Linked DNA regions of Homo sapiens: region 2 is linked to region 1. The links are contacts of gene promoters, found by promoter capture Hi-C in blood cells and fetal thymus (Javierre and others, 2016). All regions are on one chromosome and are shown on one strand. Each heading gives the region's core, a stretch centred on a gene start or on the middle of the fragment in contact. The rest is flanking DNA. Distances are from core to core; before and after follow the strand shown.

Region 1 (4,600 bases), core at 861-3,360:
AAACATTTACTGACTGCCTACTAGTACCCAGGCACTGGGCTAGCTACTATGAATAGAAAAATGAGTAAGACATGGTTCCTGTCCCCCCGGAAAACCTACATTTTTCAGATGAGACTGTAATCTGAAGACTAACTGAAATATAATGTAGTAAATGTAAGAAAAGAGCTTATAAACTCCTTTGGGAATGTGGGATAGCAACATTTTGACAGCATTGAAAACTGAATGTGGTGTGAGGGGAGGATGGATGACTAAAATCAAGGGAAAGATTATTGGGGAGGATTTCAGAGCTGACTCTTGAATTGCAAACCCCTCATTCTCCCTCCACACACGTACACGCTCTTCCTATTTCCTTTTCATGATTCTTGAGGAAGGTACAGGAGTTAGGAAGAGGAACTGCAACAACACAGATAACAAGTCATCAATGGTACATTGGGATGGCAGTGGTGATGAAGATGACTAAAAGCCACTCCATACTCTAGAGCAGGGTTTGGCAAACCACACTCTGTGGGCCATATCTGGCTGGCTGGCTGTACAGCCAGTGAACTAAGAATGGTTTTTATATTTTCCAGCTGTCAAGGAAAAAAAAGAAATATTTCATAACATGAAAATTACATGAAAGTCAAATTTCAGTGTTCATAAATAAAGTTTTATTGAAACACAGCCATGCTCATTTAAGTATTGTCTATGGCTGTTTTGAACAAGCCAATTAGATGTGATAGACCATACGGTCCATAAAGTCTAAAATGTGTACTATCTGGCCCTTTGTTGAGAAAGTTTGCTATTCTCTGCTCTGGAGGCTTAAGTGAGACAGAGAGTATTGGATGATGAGGTTGGAGACGAAGGTGGGGTGAAAAGCCTCATATTAAGTACTTGGACTTGAACCTCAAGTCTAAGTAATGAGGAGGCCCATTTTTACATTTTACATTAAAGTGTTTTTATTAAAATGTTCATTTGGGTGGCAGTGCAAATAATACATTTAAGGGAATAAAAAAATGTAAGGATATAGGGGGATAGCTAGAACAGAGGATAATGTAAAACTTCAGGCAGAAAAACAAGACATTTCAGCATTCCCTAACCTCCTACATCGCCAAATTGTCCTCCATCCACTTATCACCATCTCACAGGATACACATTTCATTTACCTACTTGTTGTCTGACTCCTCCTACTCAAATGTAAGCTCCAAGATTGGAAGAGTTTTTCTTGGTTTTATTATTTCAGTGCTTAGAACAGTGCTAGACACATAGGAGGCATTCAGTAAATATTTGTTGAGTCAACTGAATTAGGGTTTTTCCCCAGCATTAATTAGCCTGTAAAATCTGAGAAGGCAGAAACTGTTCAGTTTTGCTCACTGCTATCTCCAGCTTCTAATGGACATACAGTAACCCTTCATAAATATTTGCTGAACGAGTGATTCAGTGAACAAATGAATAGAGAAGACCAACATCCGAAAAGTTATTTTATTTTCAAGCCTCATGTCTTTAACTGTTTTATATCAGCCTTTCTTAAGTTGACCGTCATTAATATTTGCTGAATGAATGAGTCAGTGATAAACAGAGAAGACCATCACCCTAAAATAACGACCCCTCCACTTTTAAGTCTTACGTCTTTAATGGGTTTCATATAATCTTTCTGCGCTCTTTTTACTGTCCAGTGTGGGAGCTGACACTAGTTTGCCTTAAGTCCTTAAAAATCGCACCCGGAGGCGCAGTGTCATAGGTAACCCAAGCTTTCCTAGTAAACATGATACAAAAGTAAACACAACCAACAGCATGGGGACCAGCAATTCAGAAACACCGAGCGGGCGGGCTGCCCAGACCTGGGCTTCCCCAGCAGGGCCCGCGGAGACCGGCCGTGAGCAGAGGCTGCAGGCCCACCCCGCAACCCGAGCAGCCGGGGCACCGCAGGGAAACAGCGGCCTAGCGAAGCCACCCGAGCTCCCTCCGCGCCCCCGGGCCAAAAGGCCGCAAAGGAACTCCGCCCGCCCGCCCGCTCACCCGCTCACCCGCTCACCCGCTCACCTTCAATTCCTGCGAGTCCATGGCTGCCCCGAGGCCGGGCCGCGGGGCTCTGGGGATTGTCTCGCCGCAGCCTAAAGGAAGACGCAGAATTCAGCTCCCCTAGCCTCCCGGAGCGCTCTAGCGCCCCGGGCCCCAGCGGGAGGGGCGGGGTCGCGCCGCGATTGGCTGTCGGAGGGAGAGGCGGGCCTGTGTGGCGGGGATCGTGCTGTAATGGAGCAGGGGCGGCGGGGACCCGGAGGTGAGGGCTGCGAGGGCCGCCCGGGAGGGTCCGGGCTGGGAAAAGGGCCTCCGCCGGAGAGTGCAGCTGGAAAAGGAGGTCACACTGGGAAACGGCTGTCTGAGGACAGTGGGTGGGCGGGCCGAGGAAATGGAATTCAGGAATAAAGGAAACGGAGTATGAAGAAGGGGAAGTCTGTTTCCTGTCACTGGTTGTAAAGGAAGACACCATTTTCTGCACGTTTGTCTGGAGGCGGATTCCCGCAGTGCGGCTCTCAGCAAGGCTCTGCCGGCGCGGGAAAAAGCGGTCAACTTTCACGTGGGCAAGTTGTTTTACGGCCACAAGGTGGCGCAGAAAAAAAAAATCACACGTTCTTAACAGAAATACGGTGCGCTTGGGCCCGTCTTTGCAGGCGTTGCTGCAATCTTTGTTAGAATGTGTGTTCAATTAGCCCTTTTTTACCAGCCCCGATAATAAGAGGGACAAATAAATTAAACTTCCAGAAAATTAGTGTCTTGTTTTCAATGATACTACTGATTTTAAACTGAGAATAAAATGAATCCCAATGCAAATTTTTATGTTTGCACCCCATTAGGCAACTCAATCAGTCACACATAGATTTCTTAAGTCCAGGAAATTAAATGGAAATATAATAGACTAAGATTTTCTATTTCTGCTTAAATAAATATTTAAAATAGTGCATAAGGTCTGAGATTTAAGTGATCTTTGCAGAATCTTTCACGTGGATTCCAAATTTTGATCCTAGTGTTAATTATCTTACTTTAGTTGACATGATACGTAGTTGCCTTTTCCAGATTTTAAGTTTCTTAAGGAGTTTATAAACATTGACTTTTTCCCCATGCCAATAGGTTATGTAAGGACAGTCTTGAGAAAAACGGTAGCTACCATCCTAGGCTTTAAGGTGAAGCAATATTTCTCACCGGTTTCTCTTTAAAGGAATTCACCACGTATTTTCACGAGCAACTTTTTTTTCTTTCCAATATTTATAGTCCAGCTAAATGTCTGTGGTGATGAACAACTGGTGATATCTCTTTGATTTTCAAAGCTGCGGATTAATCCGCACTTGGTATACAGCAAAGAATACCACAGGACCAGGGTGCTCAATGAAGTGTATAATCTTGAACTGTAAACCTTTGGTTATAAGAGAAAAGTTCATCTGTAAGGAAATATCTCAGGATCATGGTTAACAGAACAGATGATCAACCTACCTTTTGGAGATCTTGAAAGTCATATTAATTTAGCCTCGTATTCTCTTCACTGAATTCTGTTCTAAGGTTGAATTATTTAGCACAAAACACCAAGCCTGATGTTTCATAAATGTTTGTTGGATTAAAAGTACTCTGAGATTTGCTTTGACACTCACGGTGACTTGGTGTGCCCTGTGCCCTTACTAGATCTCATGTAAGAAATTTATTTTGGATCTCAGGCCAGGAAAAACTCTTGTCTTTCCTGAAAAATCGATGTGTTCCTTAGCAGTAACATTTTTATCGGCTCACTTTTACTAGCTACAAACTTTTGAGTCTGATATCCATGACCCTTCACCTCATCGTCTTTTCAAGCCTTATCTTCTACCTCCCCTTCAAGGAGCCTTTATTCCGCTCAGTGGGACAAATATTCCTTCTTCTGGTAATGCTTTCCCCTACTTTGTTTTGAGCTCTTTCTTCACCTGAGAAAATCTCCTTCTTCTGAGTTCATTTCAAATTTCATGAAGTCTTTAAGGATCACCATAACTGGATGGGTATAAAAATATCACAGTGTAGTGGCAAGAATACCCTCTTCTGCATCTGAGGTGGAGCTCCTATTACGCTAGCTACTTTTGTGACTTGGGGAAGTAATTTCCCTAAGCCTCATTTTCCTTATTTACTAAAGAAACTAAATGCCTTACAGACATATTAAAACTTCCTGACACATAATAGGCATTGTATAACCAATAGTTTCCATTAAACACGTAGTGCTCTATAGCAGTGGTCCCCAATCATTTTGGCACCAGGGACCAGTTTGGTGGAAGACAATTCACAGAAGATAAATTTTCCATGGACAGGGGTAGGGGAGATGGTTTCGGGTTGAAACTATTCCATCTCAGATCATCAGATTCTTATCTAAGGAGCATACAGCCTAGATCCTTCACATGCACAGTTTATAATGGGGTTTGCATTCGTATGAGAATCTAATGCCTCGCTGATCTGACAAGGAGGTGGAGCTTGGGGTAACGCTCCCTTTCCTGCCCCGCAGCTCACCTCCTGCTGTGTACCCCGTCCTGCTGTATACCCCATCCTGCTGTGTAGCACTGATTTGCAGTCCTCAGATTGGGGACCCCTGCTCTATAAGACTTATTACACTTGC
Region 2 (4,600 bases), core at 764-3,263, 2.3 Mb after region 1:
AAAGATGGGCACTCACAGGAGGGAAGAGCCTCTGCAAGGCAGCAAAGAATGGAAGACCAGATGTGCGGAAGACAGCGGTGTATTCAGGAAGCAATCACTGAAGAGTAGACAATGGGAGGAGGCAGGCAGGTTGAGGGTACAGGGCCTATATGCCAGGTTAAAGAGGTTTCCATGGAATATTCCAGGCTTTGAGAAGCCCCTGAAGCTATTTCAGGCAGTGACATGAAGACTCATCCCTTTAGAGTCTTTGGTCAAAAATTATGAAAGATCTGGGTTTTCAAAGAATTTTGTCTACAGATGCCTATTATAGGTTATCTGAAGCTTGTATATATCCTAGGTTACGGACCTGCCCAACATTTTCTCACATATTTTTATGTATATATTTATATATATATTTCCGTCTATGCTGTTTTATTCCCCAATAGCAGGTGATAAAGGCTCATTTAAACACCTAGTGAAATTTTTATATCTGTTTTAATTTTTTTAAAAGGAGGTGAAGAATTTTTTGAAGTGAAAGTTAGAAAAAATACTTAAGATAAATATTCTGAACTCCTTTTTCATCGCTGTACTTATATACCAAGATTCTGGAAAGGCAACATCCCATCCCTGCGTCAGTAAGGTTAGACGCTGAGGGCCCACTTAACCTGGAGGCTTCCCTAAGTGACAAGACTCTCAAACTGGATGATCCAATAGGGAAGGTTCTAAGTCAAGGGACAAAACAAATCTCCTGGCCCTTCAAGTGCTTGGCCCAAGGAAAAGTAACGCCGAGCCCTGCGACTCTGCCAGGTATTTAAAAATGTAAGATAAGGTGATATTTGTGAGCCGGCCAGAAGGCAACGAAAGGCAGAGAGCAGATCACCGGCAGCCTCGGATTTCACTCTTGCAGCTCGGCCTGAAACAGAGGGAAGCATCGGCCCGGTGCAGGGCAGGAGGCCAGGGCACCCGCTTTCCCCGGGGAGCCGGACTGGGCGGCAGGCGGCGCACCCTGGCACGGAGGGAGGCGGGTACCCGGGCGCGCCGAGTGGCGCGGAGAGCCGGGCTGCAAGGCGGGCGTGGAGTGGCGGCTGTCAGGAAGAGAGGCCAGCATCCTCCCCGGCCTCAGAAAAGCACTGGGGCCTCCGCGGCTTCTACGTGGCCCCGTTACCCACGACGAGAGGGTCACGACGGGAGGCAGAGGAGCGGCTGCGCCCGCAGAGTCCCCCAGGACGCGGCCCCCGGGGCCCTGGAAACCCAGGGCGGGGCCCCCGCAACCACACCCCACCCGCGGCTGCCTGTCCGCGTGGCCACCGGCCACGGGCTGCGGTCCCGGCACGCGGGGGGAGGAAGATGCGGCGGCGCCGCCTGGTCCTCCGCTCCACCGCCCCGGCGATCCCTGAGATAAAAGTTTGCAGCATGCGGCTCGTCTGCAGTGCGAGTCACATCCGCCGCGCCGCCTCCTGCAGCACCAACGCTCATAGAACGAACAAATACATTAAAAATTAAAAAAAAAAAAAAAAAAAAAAAAAAAACTGTTGAAGCCAGTAGGCCCCGAAGCCGGCCTCTCTGCCTCCAGGGCGTGCATGCAGGCTAGCCCAGCATCCCGCGCCCCCTCCCGCCCGGCCTCGGCGCCCGGCCTGTGCCGGCCCCGCCGCGCCCGCCGCACTGACCGATAACCTCCTGCAGCTCGTACGCGTCCCTGCAGATGGGCCAGCCGACAGCCTGTGCCGCCGGGGCCGGGGCCGGGGCCGGGGCCGCGGGAGCTGCCGGGGCCGGCGCTGCTGTCGCGGCCGCCGGGGCCGCCGCCGCCGCCGCTGTCACCGGGGCCGCCTGCTGGGGAAGCTGGACGTGCACGGGCGAGCCGCTCGGCTCCGCCATGATGCTGCGGAGGAGAGCAGGAGGACGCGCCGGCCGACGGACGACCTTCCACTTGAAACTTCCTTTGCCTCGCCGCCGACACCTCTCGGCCGGCGCACGCCCTCCCCGCCCGCCGCCGCCGCCGCCGTCCCCGCCGAAGCCAGCTAGGAGGGGAGGGAGCAAGGGAGGCCGAGCTGGGCGGAGGGAGGAGGCAGCGCCGGCGGAGGCGGGGAAGGGAGGAGGCGGCGGCCGCTGCGCTCGCCGCGCGCCCAGAGCCTAGCGCGCGCTGTTCTCCGCCTCGGCGAGGGGAACCGCCGCCCCCCCTCTCCGCCGCCCCCTCCCGCTCCCGCTCCGCTGGCGGCCGGGGAAGTTCCCACCAAAGGAGTCAGGCCGCTTTGTGTGTGCTTTCGGGGCCACCGGCCCTGGTTCTCCTCCTCCCTCCCTGCTCGCCCTGCGCCTTGGCCCCAGACGATCAGGCTTGCCGGAGGACGCCCCCTGGGGACCCCGAGGGCGGGGTCGTTGAACGGCCGCCAGGTTCTCACATTCAGAATTCTCCTGCCACCAAAGAGAACCTGAAGTTCATTTACAAGTTGACGAGCGGGATACCTACATGGTGTCCCTTTGCAAGACGCCAGTTAGAAAATAACCCAAGTTGTAAGTTTCCGGCGCTTTACTTGCCGGTATCCCTTTCCCACCTTGCCTAATCTAATCGCAGTCCTTCTAGTTTTTCTTAGTAAATGAAACTTGATTCCTTAGGTCTCTGGCTGTTCAGACTTCATTTTTTCCAAGCCGCCTGGATCCCAGGGAGGCGATTTAAGGGGCTGTGGAATTAGAATAAGACATGCAGGAGAGGTTTAGAAAGTTTGCTCAAATTCTACACCCTTAATAATTGCCACGTTAGCCCGTGAGGACACTGAGGCCAGACATCAGGCGTTTCTTTAAGAGCGTATACTTGGTGGGGAAATAATTTATTGGGGCATGAATAAACTGTGTTGGAAGCTTTTAATTGCTGTTTTTTCAACACCCCAAAAATAACCTCGTCTGTAAAACTGCTATGGTAAAACCATAGGTTTTCCTAATTATAGGTGTCATATTTAACAGTGAATGTTCTCTGTGTTCCCTCCGTGGAGGTGACCAGGATCCACCGTTCTTGTCTCCAACTGAAACGGGGCAGTAAACCAATAGTATTGGTCGTTTGGCCAAGATGATCTTGTCTGGTTCTCATTGCTAGGACTGCTGAAGAAATAGGTAAGAATAATGAGGATGTAATAAAAACTCTAGGGATATCATGATTTTGTCTCCCGAGTGTATGTACAGAAATCTCACTAAAATTTTTGAAAGATTATTCAGAAGAAGCCCAGAAATTTATTAGGAAAGTTAGTTGTCTAATCAAAACATTGATGTCCACTGAAGATGAGGGCACTTAATCTCTTGGAGCATTACAAAAGTTGGAGTAAAGCAGCTACCTCGCTCTGGTCTTGAAGCAGAAGTTCATGCTGAACTAAGTGTACATTCTTTGATGCGGAGGACTTCAAAAACTGTGTCTTGTCATGTCTGTCAAGAAACAGAGCCCTTCATAAACAAATTCTAGGCCTCTGAGGAACAGGGGAGCTCTTTATACCAAGCCATGGCTGCTGACCTCTTCAAGTGCTGCCTCCACCCTACCCCAAAGAACTTTTAAGGACTGTTTTTAAAGGAAAAGAAAAATGATCAAATGAATATGACTTCCATTTTGTCATATGAATTTCTATTTTTGACTTTCAAACCATGAAGTGGGATTATGAAGACCAGGAATGTTCTTGGGACTTAGTAGGAAAACATGATGCCGTCAAGATCAATATCACAGAATTGAATCAAACACAGATCAATTAGTCTCCCACAAAAAGCAACTGTTCCCCAGTCACAGACTACATGTCGGTCTCTAGTCAACCGCTTTCCAAATGGCTACCAGGATGAAGACTTGCTTGAGTGGATGACTCAGTGCACATCCATCATTTCTACAGTAAATCGGTTTAAAGAAGAATGTCCCCTGGCATTGCTCTTTGGCATCATTTTTATAAATGAAGAACAGAATATGAATAATATTTTAAAATTATACAAAAGCATTAGAGTTAATGTTTCTGTAAACAATTGGGTAAAATGGTACTTAAAACTTAGAAATATATGTTTTTTAGAAGTATTCAACTGATATGCACTTTTCCCGGAAAATCCATTACTAAATTTAAATTGAAAGATGGGGATGGAGGCGGGTGCCTTTAAAATATAAACAAGGTTTATTTCAATGCATAAAGAGTACATTCAGTGAGCGATGTTAAAAATAGAAAGGAAAAATAAGGGTCTAAATGTTTTTAAAGTGTATCCAACTGCCTCATGATGTGTCAGGGTTTCTCAATCTCAGCGCTGTTTTGTGTCAGATAGTTCTCTTCGTTGTAGAGGTCTGTTCTCCTGTGGTATGGTCTGAATGTTTCTGTCCCCCCAAAATTCATATGTTGACACTTAATCGGCAGTGGAATAGTATTAAGAGCCTTTAGCAGGAGATTGGGTCATGAGGACAGAGCCCTCCTGAGTTAGATTAGTGCCCTTATAAATGAGGCCGGAAGGAGCTTGATGAGGATGCAGCTAGAGGCATTAGCTATGAAGTAGAGGGCAAGCCCTCAGTAAATACCTAATTTGCTGGCACCTTGATCTTGGACTTTCAGCCTCCAGAACTGTAAAAATGAATTTCCGTTGTTTGTCAGCTACCCAGTCTAAGGTATTTTGTCATACC

The links. Contacts are between HindIII fragments. The CHiCAGO score rates a contact against its expected background, and 5 or more counts as called.
Region 2: the fragment with the promoter of STK39 here is called in contact with the fragment with the promoter of TTC21B in region 1 in 1 of 17 cell types (activated CD4 T cells); the score reaches 5.1 in activated CD4 T cells.

The regions. Positions count from the first base shown.
Region 1 is chr2:165,951,666-165,956,265 of GRCh38, forward strand. TTC21B (tetratricopeptide repeat domain 21B) reads right to left here and starts at 2,111. Exons shown (of 29, transcript NM_024753.5): 1 at 2,020-2,111. The coding sequence starts at 2,040. RefSeq lists a silencer at 1,962-2,361 and an enhancer at 2,126-2,875. The HindIII fragment of the contact is 9,565 bases long and covers 1,726-4,600 here.
Region 2 is chr2:168,245,582-168,250,181 of GRCh38, forward strand. STK39 (serine/threonine kinase 39) reads right to left here and starts at 2,014. Exons shown (of 18, transcript NM_013233.3): 1 at 1,647-2,014. The coding sequence starts at 1,854. LOC107985959 (a long non-coding RNA gene) reads left to right here and starts at 2,380. Exons shown (of 5, transcript XR_007087282.1): 1 at 2,380-2,487. RefSeq lists silencers at 900-1,099, 1,120-1,209, 1,300-1,349, 1,710-1,759, 1,970-2,219. The HindIII fragment of the contact is 2,511 bases long and covers 320-2,830 here.